Linked DNA regions of Homo sapiens: region 2 is linked to region 1. The links are contacts of gene promoters, found by promoter capture Hi-C in human tissues and cell types (Jung and others, 2019). All regions are on one chromosome and are shown on one strand. The core of a region is centred on a gene start or on the middle of the fragment in contact, and the rest is flanking DNA. Distances in the headings are between cores, read along the strand shown.

The links. Contacts are between HindIII fragments. The study calls those that stand out against the background at their distance.
Region 2: the fragment with the promoter of SNX32 here is called in contact with the fragment with the promoter of SCYL1 in region 1 in 2 of the 25 tissues and cell types used here (dorsolateral prefrontal cortex and spleen).

What each region holds. Positions count from the first base shown.
Region 1 is chr11:65,523,350-65,526,332 of GRCh38, forward strand. SCYL1 (SCY1 like pseudokinase 1) reads left to right here and starts at 1,734. Exons shown (of 18, transcript NM_020680.4): 1 at 1,734-1,915; 2 at 2,225-2,365; 3 at 2,572-2,694; 4 at 2,775-2,983. The coding sequence starts at 1,805. RefSeq lists a silencer at 1,582-2,081. The HindIII fragment of the contact is 17,278 bases long and covers 1-2,983 here.
Region 2 is chr11:65,832,300-65,835,261 of GRCh38, forward strand. SNX32 (sorting nexin 32) reads left to right here and starts at 1,664. Exons shown (of 13, transcript NM_152760.3): 1 at 1,664-1,802. The coding sequence starts at 1,767. LOC124902693 reads right to left here and starts at 1,500. Exons shown (of 7, transcript XM_047427980.1): 1 at 1-1,500. The coding sequence starts at 1,212. RefSeq lists silencers at 1,216-1,345, 1,519-1,731 and an enhancer at 1,656-1,745. The HindIII fragment of the contact is 13,089 bases long and covers 1-2,962 here.

The sequences.
Region 1 (2,983 bases), core at 484-2,983:
CCCTATGGCTGGAGGTGAGATATGCTAGCGGTGATACTGCTCTGTTACTCTTTGCTACACTGAGATGTTTGGGTAAAGAGAAACATAAATCCAGCCTACGTGCACATCCGGGCACAGTACCTTCCCTTGAACTTATTTATGATGCAGATTCCTTTACTCACATGTTTTCCTGCTGACCTTCTTCCCACCATCACCCTGTTCTGCCGCAGTCCCCTTGCAGAGATAGTGAAAATAGTAATCAGTAAATACTGAGGGAACTGAGAGACCAGCGCCGGTGCAGGTCCTCGTATACTGAGTGTGCCGGTCCCCTGGGCCCACTGTTCTTTCTCTATACTTTGTGTCTTATTTCTTTTCTCAGTCTCTTGTCTCCACCTGACGAGAAATACCCACAGGTGTGGAGGGGCAGGCCCCCTTCAAACATGTTGGTCAGGCTGACCTGGAACTCCTGACCTCAGGTGATCCTCCAGCCTCGGCCTCCCAAAGTGCTGAGATTACAAGCGTGAACCACTGTGCCTGGCCCTCACCCCAGTTTATAGATGGGGGACCTAACGCACCCAAAGGGAACTGTGTGAGTTCTCACATCCAATGAGGGGCTGAACCGTGATTGAAACCCAGCACCGTCTCACTGTGGCATCTCTGCCCTTGAGTTATCTCCCAAAGGCATCCCAACCAGACTTTTCATAACCAGTCCCAGAATCTCACCAGTGCTCCATAGCTGTGGTTGAGGCACTGTCCCCAAGCCTGGGTCCTGAGACCCTACCAGCAGAAGAACCACTGCCTGTCCAGCCCCTCCTACACAGCTCAGGGGCTGGATCCCCACCAGTGTGATGTGCTGATTGAGCTAACACCACTCCATGGCTGTCTACACAGGCACTGAGAGATGCAATCCGTTGGCTTGAGAGCCGGGCAGCTGAGCCCAGGAGAGCAGGGTCCCCTCCCAGCCCTTTGGCCTCTTCCAGACCTGCCCAGTTGCTCCTTCTCCCTCCCTCCTTTCCTGGGGTCACTTCTTCTTCCCTCCTCAGTCTCTCCTTCCTCCATTCCCTGGGTGCCCGCCCCTGCCCCGGGGTTCTGGACCTCCTTGGAACCTTGGATTCACTCTCTGCCTCTCACCCACGCTCTTTCTCTGGGGCGTCTCCTCGTGCTTCTCTCATGGTCACTTCACCAGGACCGACTCCTCCCCGGAGCCTGGAGGCACCCACTTGCTGGTGGGAGAGAGTGTCTGGCGTGGGGCCAGTCTCCCTCTCTGGGTCTCTGCCTCACTCCTCACTGCACCCTCTCATGCCTGTCAGTCTTTCTACCTCTCCCCCTTTTTGCCTCGGTTTCCCCATCCCTCTGTCCCTTCTTAAGCTCTCATCCTTACAGTACGCTAGAAGGCAGGCTCTATTATCCTTTAGGATTTAGGCCTCTTTAGATAAAAGGGCTCACAGGCTTGGAGGGTTTTAAGTGACTTACCCGGCGGCGGAGTACTGATCTTAGTACCGCCCGCCGCCCCGGACTGCCCCGCCCCTCCCTAGCCCCCCCATCCCCGCCCCTCCCTAGCCCCCCCATCCCCGCCCCTCCCTAGCCCCCCCATCCCCGCCCCTCTCCCGCCCCTCCCTTGTCCCCGCCCCTTCCCGCCCCAACTCAGGTTCTGCCCCACCCCGCCCCAATTCACGTCCTGCTCCGCCCCGACGTAGGCCCCGCCCTGGCCCCCGGGCCCCGCCCCCGTCTGACGCAGGCCCCGCCCCCTCTCCGCCCCGCCCCGGCTCGGGCGGCCGGAGGACCCGGAGCTAAGGCGCCCGAACCCGCGGCGGCGGTGGGGACGATGTGGTTCTTTGCCCGGGACCCGGTCCGGGACTTTCCGTTCGAGCTCATCCCGGAGCCCCCAGAGGGCGGCCTGCCCGGGCCCTGGGCCCTGCACCGCGGCCGCAAGAAGGTGAGTGCGGCCGAGCTCCGTAGGCCGCGGTCGACCTGGGCCTTGCCTATTCCGCGCCGCCGACCCCGTCGCGTTGCGCCCGGCCTGACGTGGCGGCGGAACCAAGGGGTAGCAGGCCGGGGAGGGGGCGGGCAGTGCCTACGTGGCGGGCGGAGGGACCGAGGGACCGACAGGCGGACAGGGCCGGGGTCACGTGGGCCCGGCGAAGTGTCCCTAAGGCTGACCTGGGGAGAGACCTGGCTGCGGGCCCTTGTCTTCCGGCCACACAACAGCTCTGGGACCATCTCAGGCCCCGCTGCCCTCCCCTAGGCCACAGGCAGCCCCGTGTCCATCTTCGTCTATGATGTGAAGCCTGGCGCGGAAGAGCAGACCCAGGTGGCCAAAGCTGCCTTCAAGCGCTTCAAAACTCTACGGCACCCCAACATCCTGGCTTACATCGATGGACTGGAGGTACCTGCTGCCTTGCCTGCCCGTCTCTGCCCCTCACGATGTCCTGGTTACCCACTCCTGTCTCCCCTCCTGCCCTGTTTCCACCCTATGTGCCCCAGCACCCCCAGATTTGGTTTCCTCTTCCCCATCTCTCCCAACTTCAAGTCGCTTATCTCTCCTTCCTCTCTGCCCCTCCGCCCTTGATAACCCTGTGTCCCCTTCCCCAGACAGAAAAATGCCTCCACGTCGTGACAGAGGCTGTGACCCCGTTGGGAATATACCTCAAGGCGAGAGTGGAGGCTGGTGGCCTGAAGGAGCTGGAGATCTCCTGGGGGCTACACCAGATCGTGGTGAGGTGGGGGGCAGTGGTGATGAGAGCAGGGATGGGGGGTTGCAGGTGCTGGGGCGTGATGGCTCCTTTTGCCCCCAGAAAGCCCTCAGCTTCCTGGTCAACGACTGCAGCCTCATCCACAACAATGTCTGCATGGCCGCCGTGTTCGTGGACCGAGCTGGCGAGTGGAAGCTTGGGGGCCTGGACTACATGTATTCGGCCCAGGGCAACGGTGGGGGACCTCCCCGCAAGGGGATCCCCGAGCTTGAGCAGTATGACCCCCCGGAGTTGGCTGACAGCAGTGGCAG
Region 2 (2,962 bases), core at 414-2,913, 310 kb after region 1:
CAGCTTCTCTCCACTCAACCTCAGCTTCTCATCACTTGTTCCCAGCTTCTCTCCACTCAATCTCAGCTTCTCTCTGCTTGATCTTAGCTTCTCTCCACTCAACCTCAGCTTCTCTCTGCTTGATCTTAGCTTCTCTCCACTCAACCTCAGCTTCTCATCACTGGTTCCCAGCTTCTCTCCACTCAACCTCAGCTTCTCTCTGCTTGATCTCAGCTTCTCTCCACTCAACCTCAGCTTCTCTCCACTCAACCTCAGCTTCTCATCACTGGTTCCCAGCTTCTCTCCACTCAACCTCAGCTTCTCTCTGATTGATCTCAGCATCTCTCCACTCAACCTCAGCTTCTCATCACTGGTTCCCAGCTTCTCTCCACTAGTTCCCAGCTTCTCTCCACTCCATCTCAGCTTCTCTCTACTTGATCTCAAATTCTCTCCACTTGATCTCAGCTTTCTGCCACTGGACCTCAGCTTCACTCCACTGGACCCCTGCTTCTCTCCCCTGCACACCAGCTTCTCACTAGTAGACCTCAGCTTCTCTACACTTGATCTCATCTTGTCTACACTAGACCTCAACCCCTTCTCATCCTGTCCCAGTTTATATCCATTGGATCTCAAGTCCTCTCCACTGGTCCCTACCTTCTCCCCAGCAGACCTCAACCTCTCTTCAAACCCAGACCCCTTCATAGGCCCTGCTGTCATCCCTGCACTCTTAGATTTAGCCTTTATTTCGTGTTTGACCTCTTGCTTTCCCCAAATACCCCTTGGGCTGTCTTTCCCCAAATCTGCTGAAGCTTGTGATGCACTTGCTCCACGGTATAGCAGCTTCACATCCATCCTTTCCTGACTCGGGCCTGACTTCCCTTTCAAGACCGTCTTTTCCACATCTTCCAGTCTCCAGTACTCAGACTCCAGCTTCGGCTTTCGAGTGTTTCTAGTCAGGAGCTCCACTCTCTTCCCAATTACCATGAGCCCGTTCCAAGGTCCCCAGGTTTTCTCTCGCAGCATCGGCACCCCCTTGCAGCCCCGCTCCAGTGGCGACCGTTCGCGGACCCCGGCCTCGCTTGGGGCGCCCTGGCCGCGGGACTTGTGGAGCTCCCTAGTCCTCCTAGGCTGCTTACCCCGCCGCTCCCTCCCGTCCAAGAGCGGAAACCTAAACAGACCCCCCTTCTCCACAGACATTGTCCCCTGCCCTCGCCCCTGGTCCACCACCCACATCCCCACCACTGCTTCCCATTCCCTGTCCCCACCCTGCCACCCTCACCCTCTTCCCCTTCCCCTTCCCCTTCCCCACTGCCTGGTGGGCGCCAAACTGGGCGAGTGCGCACGCGCAGGCCGCACGTGGCCGTTGGAAGGAGGGGCCCGGAACGGCGGCACGGGGTTGTTGTGGGGGTCAGTCCCCCGGGGACTGGAGGGAGACGCGGCACGCGGCCTCTGCGACCCTATGAACTCTGACCCCAGCTCCCACACTGTCGCCTATCACCGGCCCACTCTCCGTGCCGCGTGTCCCTTAAAAGCTGGGGCCTGGGACAGGAACGACAGACAATGCAGCCAATGGCGTCACGCGCGGTGCCCCGCTACCCAATCGAAAGGCGTGGCTGAGGGAAACGCGGTGGGAACCGCCCCCGACTCCAGGCGACTCCTTGGCCGGGCGGGGGAGAGCGTCCCCGTCAGCTGAGAGCATCCTCACTCGGTCAGTTCCTCGGGCGAGTTACGGGGACGACCTGCGGGAGCACGCGGGCAGTGGCCGGACGCTGAAGCCCAGGAGAGCGATGGAGACGTATGCGGAGGTTGGGAAGGAGGGCAAGGTAGAGAAAGGATGAAGACCCCCACCCCAGCCTCCCCTCACTCCATGAAAGCCCGTGATGCCCAATCATGCGGTGGTGTGTGTGTGTCTGTGTGTGTGTGGTCTGCCTCTGTGTGTTTCTGTGTGTGTCTGTGTGTGTATAGTCTGCATGTGTCTGTTTCTCTGTGTGTCTGTGTGTATGTCGATGTGCCTGCATATGTCTGTGTGTGTGTGTATCTGTGTATGTCTGTATTTGTGTCTCTGTGTGTCTGTGTGTCTGTGTGTGTCTCAGTGTGTGTCTGTGTCTTTGTGTGTCTCTGTGTATCTGTGTGTGTGTCTGTGTGTCTCCGTGTCTCTGTGTGTGTGTGTATGGCCTGTGTGTGTCTGTGTGTGTGCACGTATGCGTCCATGTGGGTGTTTGTGCGTGCATGTCTGTGTCTGTCTCTGTGTGTGTCTGTGCATGTCTGTGTGTGTGTGTCTGTGTGTCTGTGTCTGTGTATGGTCTGCGTGTGTCTTTGTGTCTGTGTCTGTCTGTGTGTATGGTCTGCATGTGTGCATGTATGCATCTGTGTGTGTCTCTGTGTGTATCTGTGTGTGCACGCATGTGCCTGTGTGTGTCTGCGCAGGTCTGTGTCTCTTTGTGTCTGAGTGTGTGTCTGTCTCTGTGTCTATGTATGGTCTGCGTGCATCTTTATGTCTGTGTGTGTGTGTCTCTGTGTGTGTGTATGGTCTGCGTGTGTCTGTGTGTGTGTGTCTGTGTATTTCTGGGTCTGTGTGTGTGTTTGCATGTGTCTGTGTGTGTCTGTATCCGTGTGTCTTTGTATATCTGTGTGTGTCTATGTCAGTGTGTCTGTGTGTGCATCTGTGTGTGTCTGTGTGCCTGTGTATGATCTGTGTATGTCGTTGTGTGTGTCTGTGTGTGTGTTTCTCTGTGCCTGTGTGTTTGTGTGTGTCTGTGTATCTGTGTGTGTTTCTATGTGTGTCTGTGTGTGCGTGTGTCTGTGTTTGTCTCGTGTGTCTGTGTGTGTGTATGTGCCCATGTGTCTCTGTGTGTATGTGTGTGTCTGCGCAAGTGAGAGAAAGGAGACTTGAGCAAGGGAGTGGGGAGCCTCTGTGGCACCTGTGTGCGGACTGATGAGGATGCCAAGGGAGGCAGGGTTTTGCCTTTGTCCTTACAGATGG